Regions from separate parts of the Homo sapiens genome. Here all the other regions are linked to region 1. Evidence: promoter capture Hi-C in 16 types of primary human blood cells and fetal thymus (Javierre and others, 2016). All regions are on one chromosome and are shown on one strand. Each heading gives the region's core, a stretch centred on a gene start or on the middle of the fragment in contact. The rest is flanking DNA. Distances are from core to core; before and after follow the strand shown.

Evidence for each region. Contacts are between HindIII fragments. The CHiCAGO score rates a contact against its expected background, and 5 or more counts as called.
Region 2: a fragment that was not itself captured here is called in contact with the fragment with the promoter of DDC in region 1 in 2 of 17 cell types (M0 macrophages and endothelial precursors); the score reaches 5.5 in M0 macrophages.
Region 3: a fragment that was not itself captured here is called in contact with the fragment with the promoter of DDC in region 1 in 1 of 17 cell types (fetal thymus); the score reaches 6.1 in fetal thymus.
Region 4: a contact is called between a fragment that was not itself captured here and the fragment with the promoter of DDC in region 1, in 8 of 17 cell types (endothelial precursors, erythroblasts, megakaryocytes and 5 more). The highest score is 13.0, in endothelial precursors.
Region 5: a contact is called between a fragment that was not itself captured here and the fragment with the promoter of DDC in region 1, in 3 of 17 cell types (endothelial precursors, erythroblasts and megakaryocytes). The highest score is 7.0, in endothelial precursors.
Region 6: a contact is called between a fragment that was not itself captured here and the fragment with the promoter of DDC in region 1, in 1 of 17 cell types (erythroblasts). The highest score is 6.1, in erythroblasts.
Region 7: a fragment that was not itself captured here is called in contact with the fragment with the promoter of DDC in region 1 in 4 of 17 cell types (activated CD4 T cells, naive CD4 T cells, fetal thymus and 1 more); the score reaches 8.4 in activated CD4 T cells.

Annotation. Positions count from the first base shown.
Region 1 is chr7:50,564,155-50,567,896 of GRCh38, forward strand. It overlaps DDC (dopa decarboxylase), which reads right to left and starts at 1,251. Exons shown (of 15, transcript NM_001082971.2): 1 at 1,131-1,251. The HindIII fragment of the contact is 1,002 bases long and covers 416-1,417 here.
Region 2 is chr7:51,224,909-51,228,650 of GRCh38, forward strand. The region is part of intron 1 of COBL (cordon-bleu WH2 repeat protein); the gene reads right to left. Among named protein-coding and RNA genes, the nearest start is that of COBL, 90 kb to the right of the region's middle. RefSeq lists enhancers at 1-271, 272-980, 1,145-2,344. The HindIII fragment of the contact is 2,284 bases long and covers 645-2,928 here.
Region 3 is chr7:51,178,125-51,181,866 of GRCh38, forward strand. All of the region lies in intron 5 of COBL (cordon-bleu WH2 repeat protein), which reads right to left. Among named protein-coding and RNA genes, the nearest start is that of COBL, 140 kb to the right of the region's middle. The HindIII fragment of the contact is 6,245 bases long and covers 1-3,742 here.
Region 4 is chr7:51,156,205-51,159,946 of GRCh38, forward strand. The region is part of intron 5 of COBL (cordon-bleu WH2 repeat protein); the gene reads right to left. Among named protein-coding and RNA genes, the nearest start is that of COBL, 160 kb to the right of the region's middle. The HindIII fragment of the contact is 3,798 bases long and covers 1-3,610 here.
Region 5 is chr7:51,137,079-51,140,820 of GRCh38, forward strand. The region is part of intron 5 of COBL (cordon-bleu WH2 repeat protein); the gene reads right to left. Among named protein-coding and RNA genes, the nearest start is that of COBL, 180 kb to the right of the region's middle. The HindIII fragment of the contact is 2,121 bases long and covers 780-2,900 here.
Region 6 is chr7:51,115,494-51,119,235 of GRCh38, forward strand. All of the region lies in intron 6 of COBL (cordon-bleu WH2 repeat protein), which reads right to left. Among named protein-coding and RNA genes, the nearest start is that of COBL, 200 kb to the right of the region's middle. The HindIII fragment of the contact is 8,014 bases long and covers 1-3,742 here.
Region 7 is chr7:50,031,744-50,035,485 of GRCh38, forward strand. All of the region lies in intron 4 of ZPBP (zona pellucida binding protein), which reads right to left. Among named protein-coding and RNA genes, the nearest start is that of ZPBP, 60 kb to the right of the region's middle. The HindIII fragment of the contact is 1,608 bases long and covers 1,356-2,963 here.

The DNA of each region.
Region 1 (3,742 bases), core at 1-2,500:
TCCCTGGTTTCAAAAATGTCACATATCCACTTTGCCAGGACTTCCAGGGTAGAGTTCTATAGGGTCATCTTCATCCTACACCGCATCCAGATAAGCACAGGGAGCAAGGCTGAATGCTGGAGGGACTTACCCCAGCCATGGGAGCAGCGCTTGTCGCCCTGGACCTACACACTGGATTGCTTGGCTGCCCGACAGCACCAAGTGCAAACGGGCTACATTCACATTTCGTCTCTGCCAGCTGCAAGATCTTATGCCATCCTCCTCCCCTCCTCTGGCTGTTTGCTCACTTGTGAAATGGGGATGTGACTGGAGGTGAAGAAGGCAAACCTTCTAGACAGAGCCCAATGTAAACTGACCACTCAGAAGTAATGGTTTTAACTCACGCATGATGGAGAGCAATGATTTCCATCGATTAAGCTTTGATTCTTATATACTTCCGACAACAGACTTAAAACCAGGAGAACTTCGACTCCTTGAAGTCGATAACCGAACAATTCTCCCAATAGAAATTCCTATCCGCATATGTTTTCAGATGGGAATTGTACTCAGCATGGCAAGTTGGTGGGAAAGATCTTCTAATTCTCCTCAAATCACACTGCATAGGTAGACACCAAATTGACCTCTAAGTAAACTATAACATACACCAAAAGGAGAGAGCCCTGACGGAGCCTCAGATGTTATAAAGGGAAGGGCAGAGTTCACATTTACTAATCACCTCCATAAAATCATGGGATTTAATCCTCACAAGGTAGATACTAAGAAAATCCTCATTTACAGAAGAAACAGAGGCTGGGGGAATAAAATACCCAACACCATCCCTGGTGGTGCATGGAAAAAATAGAATCACATCTGGCCCGCATTTGCTACTGAGCCAGTCATGAAATCATTCCCAGCACCTATCAAACATGTGTCACTGGAGTGACTGTGTGTGCATGGAGAGCCACCAAGTGCACAGCCCCCACTGAACAAAAACCCCTGCCAGCCTGCAGCAGAAGAGAAAGCACCACACAAGCTCCCTCAAGTGAGTTAACCTTTAAGCAAATGTTCAGTAACATGGGGCCAGAGAGTCAAGGTACATGTTGCTGTTTTCCACTACTACAATCTGAGTAGGTATAAAATCAGAGACTTACATGCTGGAAATTCGAATTCCTTACAGGGCTACTCTCCTTGATGGGATTCTCCAACTTTGGGGACTGAAGAGCATGTGGAGAAGCTGCTGAGGCACTCGGCACTGAGACAGTCACTCTTCTTGAAACTCCAAGCCACACGTTTCCCTCTTCTTGCATTTCCAGCCACATGTGCCAGTTAAACATTAATTCCTGATGGTGACAAAGGTCAAGGAAATCTTGAGAAATAGCTCGCCTCTGGGAATCCTGAGAGCACATTCTGAAGAGACTGTTTCATTCCAAATCCTGGAAGCTTGGATCTTTCTTATGTAATTCTACATACATCCCATCTTTTACTAAGCAGCCCTGATTTCAAGTTTGGAGCCCATTAAGTCATCTGATATGTTCCAGCCCTGCACCAGGTGATGCCTGCATTGCACACAGCCTCCTGCCCCTGAAGGCAGCCCCAAAGTAAGCCTGCACTTCCCGGTGCAGCACTCAGCAATATGGGTAAGATTTCCAGGTTCAGATATCAGCAGAACCCAGGAACTCACCTTCCTTCCCCAAACCCATCAAAATCATAGTTGAGATGCATGAAACAATACTCTGAGTGGAATTTGGACAAATTTATAAAAAAACCCCAAAGTCGATAGAATTTTATGAGAGCACAAAGCAGGGCTGAGAAAGCCACATTGAGAAGTTGAGCAGGCACAGCCTGCAGGGATCTTAGGAGCTGGTCTTTCTGGCAGACCCCCAGCAGCTCCAAGCGTGGGGCTCAGTGGGTGTGAAGAGCAGAGTGAGAGTGAGGCTGGCTGCGGGCAGCTCATTAAAGGACTGGAAACAAGGCAGAGAGGGCTGTCACTAGAGCCATTTGTCACAGGCTAGATGCAGGGAAGAGCTCTCCTTGCTCTATCCTAGGGGACTGGAGCAGGCTGGGGCGGGGCACCTAGGGTTCCTATTGTTAGGACTGGAACTGGAGAGAGAAGCAGAGTGACATTGAGGAGTCTCAAAACCTCCACAGGAGCCATTGGAGGAAAGAGGGAAAAGAGAAAGAATGGCAAGTGAGCCCTCCAATGACGCACACCCAAATGCTCCCGCCTGGGGTCTCACAGGAGCTGAGAACCGAAGAAGTGATTGTCCTTGGTAAGGGGAAGAGTGAGGGAAGGGCTCCAAAGAGGGAACAGCCTCTGCAAAGTTACTGAGGATCAAGCTCGGCATCTCCCAGGCCCTGACAGAAGGCCAACTCCTAAGGACCATTCAAAGTAGGGGAGGGGGAGTCTTGCAAGCCACGTTACGTAATTTGTATCCCCCCAACTGTAATAGAAGGCATTGAAGTGTTTCTAGAAAGCAGTAACCTTAGCTTACTTATGGTTTAAGATCACTCTGGCTCTGGGGTAGAAAATGGATCAGAGGGAGATAAGGGTGAAAGGGTTAGACCCTTTAAGTTGGACCACCAATTCCCACCACATTCCTTGGATTTCTGCACTTTCCTGCAAACCAGGAGTGAATTCAAGTGAATCCATTCTAGGAGATGGGCTGGGGGAGGGAGGGGGGGCTTGAGATGAAGAAGCGTGCTAATATTCCCCATAAGTGCGTGTGTGTGTGTGCATGTTAGGAGGTTGCTGGACAAGGGGAGGAGTCAAGGGGATGGAACGACTACCCAGTGATGAAGCCAGTGGGCAGGGGATGACGGTCATAGACTGAGAGGAAGAAGACTGGGGTGGACCAGTATTGGGTGTGGGGAGGTGAAGGACACCAAGGATTCAGTTTGGGAATTAAATTTCAGATATCCACAAATCGTGTGATTTGAGATGTCCAGTACAGCTCAGAAAAAGAGGCCCAGACAGGAAATAAAGTTATGGGTTGAAAGTGTTTAGATGATATTTGAAGCAATAGGACTGGAAAAAAAACATCCATAGAGAAGAGAGACCTCAGTTTTGAAATCCTCAAAAAAGTGAACTAGTAGTGTCCAACTACTGAGCAACAGTTATCTCTCAATAGAGAAATCTACATAGGAATCAGCATCCGTTCCCAGAAGGGACTCTTTTTACATTTCCTTTCTTCTTGCAGGTGTGGGATTTATGGGGAATAGGGGTGAGGCTTCGAGGACCAAAGAAAGAAATCTAGGGCAGGATTTCCCAACCATGGCACTTTATCAGTCAGGTTTCTCCAGAAAACTGGAAATAATAGGATATGGATATAGGAATATAAGAAGAGATTTATTGTAGAAATTGGCTCATGTGATTATGGAGGCTGGGAAGTCCCACAGTCTTCCATCTACAGGCCGGAGAACTAGATAAGCTGGTGGTGTAATTCATCCTGAGTTTGAAGGCCCAAGAGCAGGAGAAGATGGATATCCCAGCTCAAGAAGAGAAAGAATTTGCCCTTCATCCACCTTTTTGTTCTATTCTGGCACTCAACAAACTGGATGTTACCAGCCCACACTGGTGAGGATGGATCTTGTTTACTTTCTGGAGATTCCAATGCCAATCTCTTCCAGAAACACCCTCATGAACACAACCAGAAATCCTGCTTTACTGGCCCTCTGGGCATCTCTTAGCCCACTTCAGTCGACACATAACATTAACCATCCCAGCACTATTACATTAAGGGTGTATAATTCTCTGTGATGGGAG
Region 2 (3,742 bases), core at 537-3,036, 660 kb after region 1:
GCATGTGGGTGACCTGTGCGTGTGGGCGGCCCGTGCATGCGGGGGCGGCCCGTGCATGTGGGCAGGCTGTGAGTGTGGGTGGACTGTGTGTGTGGGTGGACTGTGTGTGTGGATGGCCTGTGCACGTGGATGGCCTGCACAGGTTTAGACCAGGCTTGTTCCCCATTGTCTGTTTCGTGCTTTCAGTGTGGCTTCTGTTAAACGCAGGCACCATCCTGCAGCTAACACAGTCACAGCACAAAACAGAAAACGCCTGGCTTCCTCTGCCTGTGAGTGGCTCAGCCTGGGAAAGAATGGCTGCTATTTACGTGGGGACTCCACATCTGTACTCGGTTGTGAAAAGTCATTAGCTTACCAAGCAGGGGATGCCTTTCTCAAACATCTGTGCAGATGTCATGTGGTTGAGTCTGAGACTCAGATGCATGTGGCAGTTTAAAAAGAGTAGGCCTTCTGCACAAGTCTAAAGAGGCCATCAGACCTGGGACCTTGCCCGGCTCCTGCTGGGCACACCCATCGCAGGTGCTCCCGGCTGGCAGTGCACACAGGCTGGGTAATCCAGCTTTCCTTCCTCTCACCCCCTCCAGTAGGAGGCAGGGCAGGTCCTTGGGACTCAGCAGGGAATGAATCACAGCACACACAACTCAAGCTTCCTTTGATCTATTCAGGTTGAAAAACCTGGGTGTGCCCTGGCAGGAACTGTTTATAAAATGAAAAAGTATATATATGAAAACATTTCTGCCATTTCCAAGGTCATCAACCATAGCTCTAAATGATTTTAGCTTAAAACCATCACACATTTACTAAGTTTCAGGATGACGCTTGTTAATTCCCACATCAGCTGGAAGCTCCCAGCTGGGTTTTTATTCTGAGAGCTCTTCAACATTCAGCAGAAGGCTTGAAATCCACTCACTGAAAGTCAGAGGGTCTTAGGTGACATGGTGCAGTGAATGCAAATCGCAGGTGTGAGGCCCAGGTAGCTGAATTAAAACCTAACTCTATAGGTGACAGCCACTGCCCAGCCAGGCTGGTCAGGCTGAGGTAGACAGGGACTGCATGCTGAAAAGGGAAAATTCATGCGTCTCTGTACTTTCCCAGACCCTGAGTTCAAAAGCACTATGCTTTACATCTTCCATCTTTCCAGTTGGAAATGTCATCTGTGGACCTGAAGGTATAACAATTTCTTACTGTCCAAGAAAAGTGGACTGGGAAATCCACAGTGATGCTGAGGCCAGCTGACCTGAATGGCACCTCTACACCATGGGTGCCTGTTTACCATGTTGGCTACTCTGGCTGGCTGCTGGCAAACCGCATGTGCTTAAAGGGAATTTCAGAGAGAAACCAGGCACACCCGGCTCTCCTGGCTAAGAGAGTCTGTTTATGCTGCAGGCAGAAGGGAGTTGCCATTCTCTCTCCATGAGATTCTTCAGCAATAGGATGTTTGCTTCATCCTGTTTACAAGCGGTACATAAGCTGCGTCTGGTTTGTGTCTGGCTATTTATTTGCAGCCACAGTTGTAGACTTCCCTCTACCAAGGGAAGAGGAACCATGACTTTCTTGTTCATCACTGGTAAGTGAAGTGCTGGGCCCAGGGAAGGAATTCGGTCACCACTGCGTTGAGTGAGTGAGTGAGTGAGTGAGTAAGTGAGTGACTAAGTGAGTGAGTAAGTGAGTGAGTGAGGGAGTGAGTTGGGATTCAGCTGCCAAGTCAGTGCCCAGTTTTCTCAGCAATAATAAAAAGTCAGAAAGATGTCCAGAAACAAATGCCCAGAAGACAGCTGAGTGCTACCGCAGCCTGCAGAACTGGTTACCAAAGAGGGGAATGAGGAATCCTCGCATCCTGTACCAGCTCCCACATCCCTGAGTCCAACACTAATCTGATTTAAGCCCTCATTTTCTAAACATGCCATGATCCAGCCACCATGCCACACTGTGTATGTTCAATACCCCTGGCAACTTCATATGCAAGTGTATTCTCCCCATTTTACAGACAGGGTGGCTGAGTATCCAACCAGTTAAGTAACCTTCTCACAATCACACAGCTGGAAAAGACTGGAATTCTAGCCCAGGTCTTTCTGAGCCTAGGACACCACCTACACACTTTGCACCGCCTCCAGCCTTAATTACTTCTTGAAAACAAGCACCGGGGTTCCTGGCAGACTGATGCTAGGATGTTTGGACTCCTTGACACATACTAGAACGCTGGTGCCCTGCAGTGCCGGCTGATGAGCGGTGAGGTTAGAGAATACTCTTCAGTGAAGGTTTCCAGCACACAGTTGTAGAGACGCCCCCTTTACTCTGATGTGGGGTCTGGACAAGCCTTATTTGCAAACTGAGTTGGGCCTCCAAGAACTTCCTTCAGTGCTCAAGGTTCCACGAGGCTCAGATGGACGCATGGGGACTGTGTTCAACTGCCTCAGGAGACAGAGGAAGACTGGAGTCACAGGGAGATGGAAGGACGTGCCCCGGCATGACATGAGGTAGGTGGCAGAGCTGGAACAGACCCCAGATTAGTCTCAAGCATCCCTGAATACACCTTTAGGGTCAGGTACTTCTTTGAGTATCTGATGAAGGCCATGGACCTTCTTCCAGGCAAGATGCACTCCAGCCTGCTTGCCACCAGCCAGGAGCACCTGCTATGGGTGTGCCCAGCAGGAGCTAGAAAAGATCCCAGCTCTGATGACTTCCTTAGACTTGTGCAGAGACCCTGCTCTTTTTAAACTGCCACATGCCCCTGAGTCTCAGACTCCTAAGCCTCTTCCTTGTACATTATTTCTGCAAACCACCCTGATGACCAGGGACTCCAGATTAAGAATCCATGTAATACCTTTTCTTGGAGCTCAGCACCTCCCAAGCTCAGGGCAATGTTCCTGTGAAGACAAGAATTCCTTCTAATAGAGGAGAAGAGCTATCAGAGGAAAATCCCATCAAAGCTTTCCCCACTGTCTTGGCCCCTGCAAACAAAACGGAAAGCCAGAAAAACAGTCAACAGAAGATCCAGATAAGTAAGGGCTGAAATATGTGTCTATGAAACAATCACACTGCAGCCCACAGAATTGTGGCATAAAAACAATAAATATCACACTGGAGCAATAAGCCAGGGAGAAACGACTTTACCCATCAAAACGCCACATTTCAGGGCACACAAAGGCACTGTCTGTTGAAAGTCTGCCCCAGGACACTCCACAGCTGTACACCATCCACCACATCCTGGTTACATGCTCTAGAGCTGGAAAAACATCAGGTCAAATCCAGCCACGACGTGGCCACGCTGTGCATCTCCCCCAGATAAGCTCCTGTAATCTGTAGGCCTCAGTTTCCCCAAGAGCTGAACAGAGAGAGATTTCAGCTTTTATCAGCTGAGTAAATGGGAGGATTAAATGAGATGACCCCTGTAAAGTTTCTGGTATGGCACCGAGACACAGGTAGCACTCAATGACTGGTGGTAATTACAAATTTTTTTACTATTATTATTAGCACGCTTACTCTTTTGGATTAAAAAAAAAAGAAGCAGGCCTCTTGTCTCTGCGAGGGTAGAGTAGAAGCTGGCTCCTCAAAATGCCTAATAAAAGCTCATTTATGCAGCAAATGCATTCATAACTGCCTAAGAAATCCTACACAATAGAATTTCACAGTTTTGACCTGGGGGTGGGGGAAGCTTTCAGTAACTCAACATAAAAAGATTAGCTTTCTAGATAGGATTCTCTAAGACATAATAACAAAACATATCCATAACACTCACCAA
Region 3 (3,742 bases), core at 350-2,849, 610 kb after region 1:
AACAAGAGTGAAACACACTCTCTCACTCTCTGTCTCTCTCTCTCCCTCTCTCTCTCTATATATATATATATACATGTGGTTTTATGTGGTTTTTGCTAAAGGAACAACAATTTTGCATGGCTTAAAGGTTATTTAAAAGCTGTTTTAAATTAATGAAATACAAAAATGATAGATAAAACTAAATGGGTATAGGAAGTTAGAAAAAAATGAAAAATATTGCAAAAGGTTATAAAAGATTTATAGAAAACTTATCTGTGTGGTCAAAGCTGAATGAGGTTGGATGGATTTGTTTATAAGGTTTTATTAAAATTAGGTTTATTGGTAATAATACATTAATACAAAGGCAAAACTTGTTTTTCTCTTTTGAACAGGGTTTTCATATAGTATTGATAAAAAATAATAAAAGGTTTTATTTACCTTTTGAATAAGCTGCAATAAAAAAAGAAGAGAGAGGAAGACACACTCACCGTGTCTTTATTAGGTCTGAAAACTGAGTCTCTCTTCTTTTTTTTTGAGACAGTCTCGCTCTGTTGCCCAGGCTGGATATGATCTTGGCTCACTGCAACCTCCGCCCCCTGGGTTCAACCTAGTCTCCTGCCTCAGTTTCCCGAGTAGCTGGGAATACAGGTGCCTGCCACCATGCCCGGCTAATTTTTGTATTTTTAGTAGAGACGGGGTTTCTCCAAGCTGGTCAGGCTGGTCTCCAACTCCCGACCTCAGGCGATCCACCCGCCTTGGCCTCCCAAAGTGCTGGGATTACAGGCATGACCTACTGTGCCCAGCCAAGTCTCCTCTTAATCAAAGAGTAAATGTTTTTGCTTTTTGAAATCTTTGAAAAAAATCACTTTGACTAAATGAATATTATTTTACTGTGATCTCATTTTGAAATCAAGTGTTTCAAGCCTTTGACATTTGACAAACTTCCTAAAATGAAACTTCAAATTCTAATGAGTCTTTCTCACATTGAACTAACTTTTGGAGATTAGGGCTCCTGGAAATCCAAACAGGGACCCTGGAACTCCAAAAGCGGCATATTAGGCATATTTGGTATGTGAAAATCATACTGGAAGCATTGTTAAATAAGAGTGTTTAACTTTCTTTTTTGTTTGTTTGGTTGGTTGGTTTTTTTGGGGACAGAGTCTTGCTCTTTCACCCAGGCTGGAGTGCAGTGGCACAATCTTGGCTCGCTGCAACCTTCGCCTCCCAGGTTCAAGCAATTTTTGTATTTTAGTATTTTGTATTTTTGTATTTAGTACTCCTCAGTAGAGATGGGGTTTCACCATGTTGGCCAGGCTGGTCTCAAACTCCTGACCTCAGGTGATCCACCTGCCTCGGCCTCCCAAAGTGCTGGGAATACAGGTGTGAGCCACCGCGCCCAGCCAAGAGATGGTGCTTAACTTTCTTCAGGTTATTTTTATATGAATATGCTATTAATATGCATTCTATAATTATAAAAGATACCGAAAAATTTGATGTGTCTTGACATAAACAGTAAATTGCTTTATTCTGATGCTCTCTTTTCCTAAAAGTTCTTTGTAAATGCCAAAGCATTGTATCTTCAAGGAACCTTATGAAGAAGATCACAAAAAGCACTCTGAATACAAGTTTCTGATAATTTTGGAGATCATGCCGTTGAACAACGCAAAAAGAAAAAATCCAGTAATCTAATTTCAAACCTGATGAGTTCATAAAGATCGCTAACCCAACTTCAAGCAGAATAAAAGCTAAGTACATGGCACTGAAGTGACAGAGCACTGAAATGATTTTTGTGACTTCTTTTTGTTTGAAACACAGTAGGTTCTTTTCATGTTTTGTTTTCTAGCATCAAGAAAACTTTTCTTTTTGAGCTATTTATAGCTTACAGCAATTGGGTAAAGTACACTATGGTGGGCAAACTGAGACATTTATCTTTCATTCTACCTGATTTCTCCAAAATTCAGAAACTATTTGTATTTTCATTTTATGGCAATATACTTACTTGCATAAGTTCAACAAGGATCTGTTTTCTTTTTTAACAAGACACATTGAAAGCACTGGTTATTTTACAAGGCTTAGACTGGAATGACAGATTTTCAGATATGACCAGACTGGTTTGAAGGGCTGAAGTTGACTTTATAGCCAGTGGACTTAGAAAATGGCTGGCCCGGTTCCTTGTCGACATGGTTCCCTTACAAGGTTGCTGACCTTGCAGTAAGTAAAAGCATGTCACTTTCTGACAGGCCCAGTAATCTCAAGATATTTTGAGATCTCGAGAAGAAAGAAATTCACTGAATTCATACAGGTATTACCGGCACAGTTAGATGGTAAATCCTTAACTTGGCTTCCTAGCCACAAGAGGCTTTTAAAAATCTAATCTGAGATTCCTTAACCAAAAAGTTCCAGCAAAGCCAACTAAAATGAGTCAGTATGGCCACTCTTATTGCTGCATCTTATGCAAATAATCATGCCAAGTATAATAAGTGTAAAACTAATTTTACAAATAAACTGGTTCTACTATGATTTATCTTTGGTAAAACTGGAGGAACTGGAAAAATTATTTTTCAATAACCCACCTGTTATTCAGTTCTAGCAGACTATTGTTTTTGTGATATTATTATTTGCCCACAATTTGGACTGAATCCTGAATTACCTCCTGGCTACAAGTCTCTAAAGAAGAAGCAGGATGTAATGTTCTGCCTGATGTTTTCAGTTGTTCCCTAATGGAATTCAGGTTTGTTTGATCTGGCATATAAATTATCTTTCTGACTATAATCCAATCCTGTGTGCATTACGCTTTTACTGTTCAGATTATTAATACTATATATTGCTTGTGGTTTTATTTCTTCTGAGAAAACTAAAATGGTATTCCAAAGACTAGAGATGATTCAACAAGCAACAGCAGCTAATAAATTTCTGACGTGACTGAGGTTTCATTCTTGCCACTCTGTAATGCCATCCTAATTTGGCTTTGGGGTTCCCTTAAAATTCCTCACTAAAACATCTTTTCTTTCCTCCCTAACATGGGACAGGGCTATCTGAGAATCACCCTTCCCAGTGACAAGGGACCCCTTGACACTCAGCGTTTAATCATCAATGCTTTCAAGAAGAAATATTTTGTATCAAAAGAGGGAAATGAAATAAATACACTTTTTATCCACAGAATGTGAGCTCCTTTTAATTATCAGGCCCAGGGAAGCATTGAAATGCAGTGGTGGTCATGTCCCACACCCGCCTGAGCTAAATAATTAGCTCTTAAAGCCAATTGCTACTTGAGCTGTAACACTGAGTGAATTTTTTGCCAAGTAGCTACAAAATGCCATACACTGGATGCCATAACTCATCTGCCGCAGTTCAGGAGTGTACAGTCAATCACCAATCAGCGTTATTTCTGTAAACTAGTGAGAATCCTTGTCAAACAACTTTGTGTCAGCCACACCTTCTTCCTTTTTGCCCTAAAAAACCTTCTTGTAACTACGGCTGAATGGAGCATTCCCCAAGGCAAACGAAGTGTGTCCCAGGCTACAGTCCTCAACCTTGGCCCAGATAAACTATCTATATTAATTTTGAGTCAGTTTCTTTCTTTAGGTTGACAATGGTGAAAAACAGCCCCTTGCAATCCACAGAGAGGACTCGATCACTGACTGCGCCTTCACTGCTGTGTCGACAATGGTGAAAAACAGAAAGTCCCTTGCAATCCACGAACGGGACTGGATCACTGACTGCGCCTTCACTGCTGTATCGAAATGGTGAAAGACAGAAAGTC
Region 4 (3,742 bases), core at 462-2,961, 590 kb after region 1:
CACACACAAAATTTACAAGCCAAGAAGGCAAATTAATTCCTTTCTTACCCTTTTATTTTTCTTGTTGTGGTTCTTTTCCTCTTTTTTATCTCCCCATGATGTCCAGACAGTAGTTATTCTTGTCCAAGTTTATCAAATTATCTCAGTTTGAAGCTCAGAGCCAATACTTCCGAAATGTCCCTTTCTGAAAGCTCACCGAAGTGTCTCTTCTGAAGGAGACATCAGGTTCCCCAGGAATCACCCAGCAGGAAGCATCACCCAGAATTATTCAGTTTTATTGGAGGCTGTCATTCAAAGGAGTTACGCTCACCATATAATTACAGATCCAGAATATATCATCTCGGATGGCAAACATTCTTAGCCAAGCAAATAAAAGAATTCTCTGATCCTTCTCACCCCACATGGAGGGTCAAATATTGAGAAATAGCTAGTCATTTGTTCAGGCTATTTTTAAACACACATTTCCAATGTACAGTCAATAAAAAACCACCCTTCACACACACACACACACACACACACACACACACACACACACACAATGAACTGTAGTTAAGGTGCACTTTCAAATCACTAAATGGAACTGCTGAAGAATGGGAACTTTCATTTCTTAACCCTTCTCCTTCCTCTCCCCCTTAAACTGTTCTGTACTTAAAATAGAAACACAGGTGCCCCTAAGCTGGATTCCCCTCTCAGAGAGGGAGCCACACAGCTGCATCCGCAGCTTAGCTGAGGCTTTGCCTTCTCTGTACAGACCTTCCTTCGCCCTTCTCACAAGGAGAACCGAGCCCTCTGACTCTACCTCCTCGCCAGGGCCTCAGGCTTGATTCTCCTATTGCCTCATCTGCCCCAATACCTCAAATCAGAGTTTTAACAAGGCCAGGGCTAGCCAGACACGGTGGCTCACGCCTGTAATCCTAGCGCTTTGAAAGGCCGAGGCAGGCGGATCACTTAAGGTCAGGAGTTCAAAACCAGCCTGGCCAACATGGTGAAACCCCATCTCTACTAAAAATACAAAAAAATTAGCCAGGCGTGGTGGTGTGGGCCTGTAATCCCAGCTACCTGGGAGGCTGAGGCAGGAGAACTGCTTAAACCCAGGAGGCAGAGGTTGCAGTGAGTCAAGATCATGCCACTGCACTCCAGCCTGGGCAACACAGCAAGACTCCGCCTCAAAAAAAATAAACAAGGCCCCTGGCAATGCCAGAGAATTTGGAGTTTCAGTAGCACCGGCAAGGGGTTCCTTGGTGTCTTCTGAGGGCAGGGGGTTGGCCTGGCTCCTCTGTGTGTCTCCAGTGCCCCCTGGTCTGCTGATGGGACAGACTCAAAGTGTGCCCAGGGCAAGTGGTTGGAGAGGCGAGTGTCTATGTGGGGAGGGATTTTAGTGGAGGCACTCTGCTCTCTTCTCCCTTTTCTTTTCTCCTTCTTTCTTTCCTTATTTTTTCCCCCTCAATATTCATTGTTCTTATTCTCTAAGTCAAAATTCAGACTTTGGAAAATAAATAATCACTTCAGGAAGTCTATTTATTGTACTATATGGTGACTATAACTACTAAGAATGTATTATATACTTGAAAATTACTAAAACGGTAGACTTTAAATGTTACCACAAAAATATAAGTATGTGAGGTCATGGATATGGTAATTAGCTTGATTTAGCTGTTGCACAATGCACTGATATATAATTTTTATTTGTCAATTGAAATAAACAAAATACAGACAATCATCACACACATTGTTAAAACATACAAAATATGCTCTGTGTTGTTAATGGACAGACAGCCTTTCACTATACTTCTTAAAATATAAAACTTTTAAAAGGGTTGCTGCCCCTGGGGAAGGAAGAAGAGAGCCAGTTGTTGTGTTAGAGAGGCAGTGTCATCTGTGTCTGCTGTGTTTCTTAGTCGTTAACAAAAAGACAATGCAGCAAATGTAGCTAAACACACATTAACATTTGTTAATGGTGGATGATTGATATGGGACTGTTTATTTATTATTCTTTTTATTTTACTATTTCTATGTATTTTCTATTTGTTTATTTTATTTATTTTACTCTGTAATCTACTATGAATTGGTACCATGCAAAATTTCAAAAAGGAGAAGAGACCCTCAAGGTGCAGTTTATGTTGAAAGAATGGAGAAGAATGGACCCAAACCTACCGGATGGCGGAAGGGCAGGGTCGGGGAGGAGCCTCCTCACTCACACGCGTCCACAGCCTGTAACCATCGCTCAACAGGAAGAAAAGGGAAGGACTATAGGTCCGCCTGGGACATATTTAAGATGCAGAAATCAAGAAAATGTGACAACCCTGGAAGAGGAAGCAAAGGTGGTGCTAGCTGAGGAGACAACAAGGGAGCAGTGGGGATTTAAGAAGATCCCAGTCTCCAGGGTAGAGGACGCATCCCTAGGGGCCCAGACCCTGGGGCAGGTGCCACTAGGAACAGAGCACGGTGGGAGGCTGGGAAAGTGTCCGCCCCTGCCCTTTTCCAGGGAGGAGCTGGAAAAGAATGCAGGCAAAAGTCGGGGAGGAAACACTCATTCCTAATGAAATGAAATCTGTAACATCAAATAAAAACAGGAGATGAGCGCGATGCTGGGACAAGCACACTGGCCTGAGCCAGGGGTGTCCATAGGGCGGGGGACAGGGAAAGCGAGGCACGGGGTGGGAGACAGGGAAGGCGTGGGGGACAGGGAAGGCACAGCGCCGGGGACAGGGAAGGCACAGCGCGGGGGTGCAGGGGCTGTGTGGGCAGGGAGGCGAGCTGAGAAACAGCAGCCCCAAGGGCCGACCCTGGGACTGCCAGTGTGTGGGACACCCTGTCTATAGTCCACTTCCTTTTTTTAAGAACCTGGATCAAGACACACGAAGAGCTGGCCAGGAGCTTGGAGGAGGGCAGCGGGGGCGGCGTTGCAGGCTCTCTGCAGCCCCCGGCCGCGCGCACCTGGCGGCCGCGCGCGCTGCGCTCTGGATGCCGCGTGAAACCGCAGGGCGCAAAGCAGGGAGGTGGGGAGGAGGCTTTGGAGACCACAGGTGCTGGGAAGTGGAGCCGCCAGGAGGCCTGGGCCAGGTGACAAGGCCAGGCTGTGTGAAGTGGTGAGATCCTAGATGTATCTTGAAGGCGACAGACGCTATGAGGGTTGCAGGTGGAGTGGGAGAGCAAAGGGGGCAAAGAGGACCCCAGGGTTCTGGCCCGAGGCACTGTGATGGCGGAGATGTCATCTCCTAGACAGGAAAGGATACCGAGGGACAGAGAGCTCTGCTTCTCACCTTCTCTGGTCTCTGAAGCAACTTAAATCCATGTGCAGGCAAGTGAGATTCTTGTTTTATACTTGTCTGACAAAGAGCAGGGGAAGGCCAGAAAGGAAACATAGACAGTGGAAATAATAGTCATGTTTTAGGGGAACATACGGAAAACCAGTATTTGAAAGGGACGTTTTCTACCTCAGTATCCTTACAAACATCACATTTTCAGCCAAGTGGTGAAAAATCTACATTTATTTTTTTCCCTCCGAGAACTGGTACTGGCATTAGGCCCTGTTTATCAACTCTTCAGGATCTATGTGTATACTACTCCCATTGTAAGAATCGAACACTCTGGGAAAAAAATTCATCAAAGCTTTAAAACCAAAACCCTCCTCTGATGGGTTCCAGGTTTGCATTAGAGATCATATGATAAGAATATTTTTAAAACTATTTTTTTGTTGTTGTTTTGAGACAGTTTCACTATTGTTGCCCAGGCTGGAGTG
Region 5 (3,742 bases), core at 590-3,089, 570 kb after region 1:
ACCAGCACTCTAACTTCAAACTGAAAACAAGATGGTACCATGCTGTGTCCTGGTGCCTCTTCTCTCCTAGCCCTGGCAGATCTTCCACCTGTTACCATGGACACAGTCAACACTGAGAGCCAATGCAGTATAGGGGTTAAGCCCACAGACCTTGGAGACACTACCTGGGTTTGATTCCTTCTTTTGACCTTAGACGAGGTATTTTTTGGTGTCAGGAGTAAGATACAAACCTTGGGCAAATTTTTAATTTCTCCCTACCCCAGTTTATCTCCTGTAAAACTGGGGTAAATAATAGTTCCTGCATTACAAAGCTATCATGTGAATCAAATGAGTGACTGGATGTAAAAGAGCTTGAAAGAGTTCTTGGCACATTGGCTGGGTGTGGTCATGCTCACCTTTAGTGCTAGCTACTTGGGATGCTAAGGTGGGAGGATCTCTTGAGCCTGAGTTTGAGGCTGTAGTGAGCCATGCTGGTGTCATTGGAAGACAGAGTGAGATCCCACTTCTTTAAAAAAAAAAAAAGGAGTTCTTGGCACAAAGTAAGTACCCAATATGTGTTAGCTATTATGATTATTACACTTGCTTGTTTGTATCTTTGTCTCCCATTAAGATGTGAACTCAATGAAGACAGTAATTATCACTGATTTTTACTGAGAACTGTATGTAATCCCAGCTCCAAACAGTTCCTGGTAGGTGGAGGGCCCTTCAGTCAACCTTCCTGAGACAATGAATAGACAGATGACCCTCTGGGTCACTATGCTTTCATATTTTACATAATAAGCTTGTGGGTAAGATTTCATTTGAACAACTAGTTCTCCATATTTAAAATGAAGATATAAAGGAAATCCATCATATTAAACAATAGCCCAGTATTATTTGTGCTCAGACACAAATGCTGTTGCTCTACCAGTTATACTATCATTTGTTTTCCTGAAAAAAAATTGAGTCACAGATTTTCTTGTGCTTAAATATTAAAGCCAAAGGACAAAGCACTCCATGAAGGCTGCTTTTTACGCCATTAGTGCTTCCCTGCAGACACTGAATATCAACGATGCCCGATGCTTTGGCTATCAGGTGCAGAGTTCCCATAGGAAACAGGTGACGGTGATATAACAGAAAAGAAACTAACACCCAGAACACTCGTCAATGCCTATTTAGGCTCCTACAGAAAAATGTAAATTGTTCCCTTGAGTCCTTGAGTTCTGCAGCCATCATAGTCATTACTAAGCAAATAAGCCATGCAAAATAAACTCTGCCTTACATCCACCTCCATGGCAACAGGGAGGACTCAGGGAGATGCAACTCAAGATTTATTTAACCCTGCAGGATCTAGAAGACTAAATGAAGCACAGGAAGCAAACCAGAGAAGGGATTTTGCTATTCACAGTTCTGGAGCTGGAAAGGTGTTTTGCTGGATGGCTGGTTTGTACAAACACCCCCAGATCCAGGGGGAATGCAAACCCCATCTTTCCTCATCAGTAGTCACTTAGCATATGGCCAGAGCATGGACACTGGGACCTTCCACACTGTTCTGTTTCCTCATCCATAACGTCTGCTGACAGTGACTGCACATGCACACACTCACGCACATGTGCACACACTCACAAACGTGCACTCACACATGTGAACACACATTTTGGAGGATGCTTAAAGCTGTGGTAGTCAAAGAACTACACACCTGTACCCATGCCACCTGCTATCTCTAAAGCACACATGCCCCATCTGACGTCCCAGAAACACGATGTCCATGGCAGTGCATTCCACAACCACATATCTAATTGCTTGTCTTCATTCCACCCTGTCTAGACATGGAACTCCCAGTTCCTCTTGTCCTCGGTCCTCACCACAACTATGCCTGCCTGACTGATCAATCAATACTGCTGTGAATCCACCTCTGTCCTGTAAGTGCCCTGAGCACTTAAGGAAGGTCTGTGCAGAATACTCCCTTAAAAGAACTTTACAGCCCCCTTCCATTTCATATTGATTTCAGGTTTTAATTCATAATTTTTTTTGCTGTCATAAGCATCCTGGACATTTTGCATTATCTATTTTTTAAGGTAAGGAATGGGAATAGACCCCATAAAGTAGGTACATCCCCATCTTTAAAATGGGGAAAAATCCATTTCCTTCAAAGTTGTTACAAGCATTAAATGAAGTAATTTAGATAAAGCACATTAGAAGTGTCTAATATATGTGGTTTCCTTCTTCTCTGATACCTATTTTGGGTGGCCATGACCTCATGAGGGCCACACTGAGATGACCTTGAATGGCAGAAAGTCAGAAGGCGGAAGTGCACCCCATCCCAGTCCTCCTAGAAGTTCTGATATTGATTATCTTCAGACAATGGGCTCCTCATGAGGCCTTCATCTGTGACTCTGGAACTTAACTGAATTTCAATAGAACAGATGATTTTTCTCCCCTAATTTGCTCTACACAATTAACAAATATCTCTTCCCACCTCCCACAATGCTCCCAAGGAGGTCGATTGCAGGGTCCAGTGGTCCTGAGCCACCAGACCCTCTTCTCAGTTCTGCTACTCAACAGTGTTTCTCAACCTTCAACCCATGGGAAGCCAAAAACTTTATGTTGTCCAGCGAATACTTGTGCTTCATTTCTATCTTCTTTCCCTACTTTTGGAATTTGTGCGCAGAATTTAGAAAGCAATCCACAGAATAATGTGGGAGGAAAACATTGTGAAGTATTGAGTCCTTTAAAGTCCTGACTCATATCAATACGAAGTCAAAGGGAAAACCAAGAGCTTAATGCATGCAGTCTGGAGTCAAAACAGCTTGGCCCCCCCTATTATCCCAGTTTCCTTGGTTGTCTCCTGCTACAAAGTGGCAAAGTTCATGAGGGACAGGCCACTGCTTGCCTGCAAGAGAGGTTTGATTTCCTGTCCAAGCTTGTCAATATATACATGTTTTTAATATCAAGTTCTTTTTTTGTAGGGAAGTGAGTCATAGCTCTCACCAAAGGTTGGCACCAAAATCCACAGATGTTGGCAGTCATGATCTTATCAAATTTTCTCAGGAGTTGCAAGTGCAACCAGATAAATCATTAAGAAAAAGCAATGAATAACAGAAAAGAAAACTAAGCAAACAGAACCTTCTATCTCAGGCTTCATGGGACTTAGGTTGGTGGGATTTAAACTTCCTCCAGGCCAGCTGCTGTCATTCAATGGATAGTCGAATTCAATGGCGCCCACCAAAGACAATGCAAAACTCTCTGTGTCCATGTCACCACACCACTGATAGCCAATTAACTCCTTACATTCAGTGTAAAACATCAGTGATTTGACTCTCATACGCGCATCTGGGGAGAGAAGACAGGAAGAAGAGGAAGCTAACCGTTTCCAGATCTGAGTGCCAGCTCAAAATAAAACCAGTATCATCTGCCACAAGTGCTTTTGACATGGGTCCTAATTTTAAATTTACACACACACAAACATTTATGTATGCATGGGTGTGTGTGTGCGTATATATATATGTACATATTTGATTGCTTCTGTTTAAAATGTACTCATCTCAGCAAAGCTTATTTTCCTTTTATTTGACTTTCATTGTGACGACAAAACACTACTCCACTGACAGGGACAAGGAGCTATGCAGATCTAGCACCAGGCAGCAGGGGCACGGCCCTGACAGCACAAGTGCCCCATAGAACCTGATAGGGCACTGAGAGTGCAGGGTGTTCCTGGAATACTTTCAGGGCTCACAGGTACCGCAGAGAACACGTTGTCTCC
Region 6 (3,742 bases), core at 757-3,256, 550 kb after region 1:
TTCTAATTTCCTTTGTGATTTCTTTTTTGACTTAGATTACTTAAAAGTATGTTGTTTGCCAAATATTTGAGGGTTGTCCTAGACATATTGTTACTGTTGATTTCTAATGTAATACTCCACATGATATAAATCCTTTTAAGTATATTGAGATGTGTTGGTAAACATACCACATTGTACTAGAAAACAATGTGTACTCTGTAGTGGTTGGATATAGTGTTCTATAAATATCATTTATATGGATAGTTGGTAGTGTTGGTCAGATCCTCTATCTCTTCACTCATTTTTTTTGTCTAGTTGTTCTATCTGAGAGATTGTTCTCAGTCATGCTGTTCTCCAATATGATGGTGGATGTGTCTATTTCTCCTAATTTTGTCAAATCTTCATGTATTTTGAAGTTCTGTTATTAGGTACATACACATATATATGAGTATGAAATCTTCCTGATGTATTGATTCTTTAATCATTATGAAATGTCCATCTTAAACTCTAGTAATATGTAAGGCTATTTTACCTGCTACCCATCTAGTCACTCCAGTTTTCTCATGCTTACTGTTTAAATGGTATCCTTTTCTACCCATTCACTTTTAATCAGTATCTGTCTTTTTATTCAAAATAGGTTCTTATAGACAACATTCTTATCCATTCTGACAATCTCTACCTTTTAACTGGAGTGTTTAGTCTGTTAACATTTAATGTAATTATTGATATGGCTGAATTTAGATAAACCAGTTTGTTTCCTGTTGTTGCTCCTGTTTATTGTTTCTCTGTTCTTACTTTACTTTTGGGTTTTAAAAATTTAACCACTGGATTAGTTGTACCTCTTTGCATTATTTGGTTTAATGGTTGTTCCAACAATTATAATATGTGTGCTCAACTTTTACAGTCAAATTAGATTAAGTATTATAACCCTTCACATCAAATGTGGATAACTTACAATCACATAGGTCCATTTACCCAGCCCTTCCATGCTTTATGCTATAGTTGTCTTATGTATTACACTTATAGAGATTATAAACCCCAAAGACAATATTATAATTTTTAAGCAATCACATATATTGGAAGTAATCTTATATATTTTGGAAAGAAATATATCACATATATTGGAAAGAAATTAAGAGAAAAAATAGTTTTTTTATGTTTATCTAGCTATGTACCATTTCTGACACTCTTTATGTCTTTCTAAGAGTCCAAGTTTCCATCTGATATCATTTATCTTCAGCCTGAAGAATTTCTGTTAAGTGTTTCTTTTATGGAGGTCTAATGGCAATTCTTTATATTTTATTTGAAAATGTCTTTATTTTGCCTTATCCTTGAAGGATATTTTTGCTGGGTAGGTAATTCTGAATTACCAGTTGTTTTGTCTCTTCAGCACTTTAAAGATGTCCCATTGTTACCCAGATTCTACTGTTTCTGATGATAAAGTGATTCACTTTCTTTTATATATATATTTTTAATAATACTTTAAGTTCTAGGGTACATGTGCACAACGTGCAGGTTTGTTACATATGTACACATGTGCCATGTTGGTGTGCTACACCCATTAACTCGTCATTTACATTAGGTATATCTCCTAATGCTATCCCTCCCCCCTCCCCCTGCACAAAATATGGCATTTTTCTCTACTTGTGTATAAGATTTTCTCCTTAAGTCTATTTTTAAGTAATTTCATTATAAAGTACCTATGTAGCTATGCACAGTTTTCTTCTTATTTATTTTGATTTGGATTCACCAAACCTCTTTAATTTGTAAATTTTGTCTCACAAAATGTAAAAAACTTTTGGCCCTTGTTTTTTCAAATATTTTTTTCTCTTCTTATTCTGGAGTCAATAGAGTCCCAGAATAAAAAGAAAAAATAAATAAATAGAAAAAATAAATCTTTGGGGATCTACTTTTTTTTCCAAAATTTTTCTCTTCTTCTTGAAACTGGATATTTCAAATTGATTTATTTTCAACTTCACTGCCTTTTTCTTTTGTTACCTTCATTCTGTTGTTGGGCCCATCAGTGAAATTTTTATATTGGCTATTGTGTTCTTCCATTCTAGAATTTCTACTTGGTTCTTATTTATAGTTCTTATTAACCATATGAGATTTTTTCTTTTTTTCATTCATTATGAGCATATTTCCCATTATGTTGTTACCACAGTTACAAGCAGTCGTAAAATTCTTATCTGCTAATTCCAACATCTCAGTCATCTACAGATTGGTTTCTATTGACTATCTTTTTCACATTTTCGAATAGGTCGCATTTTCCTGGTTCTTCATATGTTAAATAATTTTGGCCTGCATCCTGGACATTGTTGAGTGTTATGCTTAGGAGGTTCTAGATTCCCTCATATTCCTCAGGAGACTGTAAATTACTTTGTCTTCACGGGCAATAATAAGCTGACTGGATTCACTTTAAGTCCTGTTTCTTGAGCAGCAATCAAATCTCAGTTCAGCTCTTTAGTTCTTAGCCAGGCTGCTTGGTATCTGTCCTTTTCATGCATGGTTCAAGGCTGAGCCAGAGATTTAGCCAGAATTTATCCACAGAATTTATGGCTGTCCCTCTCTGGCTTTCTCCTTTCTAGTATTCTTTCCTCACTTTCCAGAGGGCGGTGGCTGTCCTGAATTCTGGCCACATAGTTCTGAATTAGGCTAGAACAAATGGGCACCACAAGTTACTTTCCTGAGTTTACATATAATCTATTGACTACTGTATTAATTTTCTGTTGCTGCATATCACATTACCATTAGCTTGGTAGTTTAAACACAAACACACACATTTGTTATCTCAGTTTCCAGCGGTTGGGAGTCCAAGCATGGCTTAGCCGGGTCCTCTGCTCAGGGTCTCACAAGGCTGCAATCAAGGTGTCAGCAGGCTGTGTTTCTATCTGGAGGTTTGATTGGGAAGGCTCAGTGGGGTTGTTGAAAATTGCTTCTCTGGCGGGTTCAAGACTGAGAGACTTGGCCTTTTACTGACTGTTAAGCAGAGACAATCCTCGCATCCTAGGGGCCACCTGCATTTCACAATCTTTTATAATCACAGGGAGTGACATCCCATCATCTTTGCCATATCTTGTAAGTTAGAAGCAAGTTCCAAATTCCAATTCACTCAAGGAGAAGGGCTCATACAAGGATGTGAATCACTGGGGGGGAGAGGGGGAGGGGTGTCACATTAGGGTGTGTTGGTCACGAAGACCAAAAGTATGTTTTACGCTTCTATAATCTGGGGCCCTTGGAGGTTCAATAACTTCCCCAAGGTTGTATAGGTTAGTGTTGGTGGAGTCTGGGATGGATTCAAATCCAGGCAAAGCCTATGTCCTCCAAATATCCCTCCTACATTCAACAAGCAAACTACGCTCTACACTGCTGGAGCAGGCTGGACCCAGCCACAGAGAGGAATCCACAGCCAGAGCACAGTATCTGCAAATCGATGCTGTCCAGCTTTCCTGCAGCCATGTGGGATGTCAGACCCATGTCTGCAGCTCAAAATACCCAAATATAAAATTAGTTTCCTCAGTCCCAGAGTCACTTGAAAACATCTTATTTTCTAATATACAATTAAAGTCACCAGAGATTACATCACATAGGAAAGTTTTACAAATGACACAGTTTAATTCAGACACATAAAAAGGTTAAAACATACCTACCAAAGTTACAGGGACATTATCTGACAAATACAGAGATTCTGTCAGTTTGGTTATAAACTAAGTTTCCCTGGTGATATTATTACCTCTTCTAAGGTACCATAGTATTTAGGCTA
Region 7 (3,742 bases), core at 910-3,409, 530 kb before region 1:
ATTATGAACAATATTCAAAAATATATGTTTCTAATAAATACACAATTAGTTTTATTGAGTTGAGTACAACATCTGGAACTGAGAACACACACACACACACATATATATATATATTTTGCCCATCCCAAATTCTCACTGAAATGACACAAGAAAAATAAAAATGAAAAGAAATTCACTACAATACCAAAAGTCAGAAAAGTTCATCTTCCAAAACAGGGCGCTCTGTTGCTACTTCTGTCAAACAAGGGAGACTTCCCTGCCTGTTCCTGGATTACGCTCAGGAAAAGCTTCCTGCACACACTGAAGTGCACCCAGCCATTGTTTACTTTCTTACCTACACATTTAAGCTAAAATTAAGTACACATACTTAGCTACTGTCCATCTTTGTATTTGGAGTAGAGACCAGACAGCTTCTAATTGCTGAGGAAACCTCTATAGGTTTCATTTCTGAACAGGAATTCTAACATGCTTTTTGTACTGATTCATCCATCAGCGTAGGTACACATTTATCATGTATATATTACATATATCATGATTTATAATATCAAAGATATGTAATATATACAAATATCACATAGAATAACTGAACCTGAGGGGTCAGAGCTGGAACTATAGTTGAGTCACAGTATGACTGGGGACAGGGAAAGAAAACTTTTTCTCTCCAGAAATCTGACTCATATCAAGGTATTACCTGAAATAGAATTAAGTCTGAATTTAAGTCAAAATATCCCCCAAATTCTCTGAAACACTGTATCAAAAGTATACTCTTCTGAGTGTCCAGCAGAAGTACACACAAACCAGCAACAATTCAGGATCAGCTTATGTGCCTAAAAGAGTTAACGTTGCAGGTGGGAGGCTGCTTGCAGGATTAGCCCTTGGCTGGTAAACACCTCCCTACACAGTCAGGAATCTTTTTCTTCATGATAAAACTGTCTTCTTAACCGATGCACTGAACATCTTTTTGCCTTCTGGGAGTCTGAGATTGTTGTAGTTGGTAGGCAAAAGTGCCTACAGAACTGGTCCCTAATAAACATTCTGGATGTGTTACTGTTTATTCTGTTGCTTTTGTTTTTTCTTCAAAATCTCTCGCAAATCCTAAAGTATCTTCAAGATGATTCATGGAATAGACTTTAAATACACTTAAGTACAGATTTCTGACATCACTGAGATAATACAATTAGACTGGGTAAGAATTTGAGTAACTCCAATTTTAAAAACTGGACTCATAAAATTGCTAATCTAACATGAAGCAGAAAAAGAATTATGTGGGACTGAACTGATGTAGGACTAAAATTATTTTTATCACTTTTTGTTGAAAACATTGCTGATTACTTTTTTTTTTCCAGAGTCAAGAAAGCTTTTTTTTTAGCTACTTATAGTTTGCAGGAGTTGGGTAAAGCATATTTTTGAAAGCAAAATCAAAACATTTGCCTTTCTCTCTGATTTCTTCTGAATTGAGAAACTAACCATAAATATTTTTAATTTATGGCAATATAGTTATTTGCATAACATTAATAAGAATCTGTTTCCTTTCATAATAAGACACAGTTGAAAACACATATTACAAAGGCTTTGATTGCGATGTCACATTTTCAGGTATGACCAGGCTGCTTTAAGGAACTAAAGGTTAACTAGGATCCAATTAATCCCTTGGAAAAACTGCCCAAGTACCCTGTCTACATGGTTCTTTACAGGGTTACTAGCCTTGTGGTAAGTAAAAAAATATCAGTTTCTGAGAGGCATAGCATACTCTAAATATTTTGGGGACTTCAAGAAAAGAATTCACTCAAGTACTACAGGTAAAATCTGAGGGTGAGTCCATAGCTTGACTTCCTAAACTGGAGAGGATTTTAAAAGTCTTTTCCTTATGACAAGTTCCAGCAAAGCCAACTTTAAAAGAGTCTATAATAACGTCAATAATTATTCTTTCTACAGTTTATTTATTTATTTATTTATTTATTTATTTAGAGATGGAGTTTAGCTCTGTTGCCCAGGCTGGAGTGCAGCAGCACAATCTCTGCTCACTGCAGCCTCTGCCTCCCAAGTTCAAGTGATTCTCCCGCCTCAGCCTCCCAAGTAGCTGGGATTACAGGTGTGCACCACCATACCCGGCTAATTTTTGTATTTTTAGTAGAGATGGGGTTTCACTATGTTGGCTAGTCTGGTCTCGAACTCCTGACCTCAGGTGATCCACTTGCCTCGGCCTCCCAAAGTGCTGGGATTACAGGTGTAAGCCACTGTGCCCGGCCTTGCTACAGTTTATATAACTAATCAAGCCAACTATAATGAGGCTAAAACTTCCTTAACAACAAAACTGGACTCACTGTGATCTTTGGTAGAAATAGGTGACCAGAGAGAGAAAAATTATGTTTCAAGAAAAATTTAAAAACTATAGTGTGCCTGTTATTAGATTCTAGCTTTGTCCATTTGTTTTTGAGGGTTTTTTTTTTTTAATTATCTAGGCTGAGTCTTGAATTTTTAGTTTCTTCCAATATCTGACTATGACTCTGCAGACTAAAATTTCCAATATTTCTCCCACTCACTCATCTGACTTGAAATCCCTAGACATCAAAACTGCTTTTCCTAAAGCCCCCTGCAAGTTAATGCTAGACAACCTGATACAAACTTTGGAGAAATCACTACAACAACTTATGTATGTACAGAAAGTTCAGTGGAACACCTGATTCAAACTACAATCTGGGAAAATCTATCAAATTGCCACTCCCTGCCCATCCCAACTGAAATGTTTTGAGTCAAAATCTAAAATATTCTCAGCTGACTGCCCTCCAAACTCAAAGACTAGTTTGCAGACTGCTCCAGATGTTAACTTTTGTTTTTCTGTGTTTTCCATAAAAATGATTCCAACTAAATACCAGTGTGCCTATACCATATAGAAACCAAATTTGAAAAAAAAAACTCACCTCTAACACCATCTCCTGAAATCAGGCTCACCTGTTCAACTAAGCTTATTATTCTCAGGACTAAGAGATTCATTCAATAAGATATGGAATCCAAATTTGTTCCTTTCTACTTGTTTCAATCTGTTTCTCACCCTTTGCCAGGTTAGAACCTCTAATCCAAATCTCCCCAAAGCTACCAACTTGGAATTTAATATGTAAAACTTTCTAAAACTAAAGCTGTAAAAGGGGGACTGAAGAAAAACAAAATATTTCTTCCCCAAATATTGAGGATTGTAAGGTTAAAGACGCTGAAAATGGAGGGGACCATTCTGCCTTAGCCTCTATTTGCCCGATGGCAGGACACCAATCCTTCCTTACTGGAGACAACACTTGCTAATCTGTCCAGAGAAAGCACCAGCAGGCACCAAAGGAATCTGGGAACAGATTTTACTATCATCCCACATTTTCTAATCTTTTAGAAGACTGGAACTGCTCTCTCCTATGTTTTGTCACTAAATTGGATTTGTGGCTCTTTGTTAAAATATTATGTAAGCAAGGCCCCTAAGCCACCAATCGGAGATACTTTTGATTTGAGGCCTCTCCAGCATGATAGGTACAGCACACGCATAAACTTCTGCCACTTTCTCCCTTGTTAACCTGGCTTTTGTTTTCAGCAGTGTCTCAACTAAGAAGTTATTCAATTGCCAGCACAGTTCAAGGCCACTGCCTTGCTTTCTACTAAATAGGTGACAGTAATTCACCCACCATAAGTGCAAATATCAACACAGTAGAAATAGCAAATAATGTCTTAGTATAATAATAAATTAGTTTTCACTTTACTG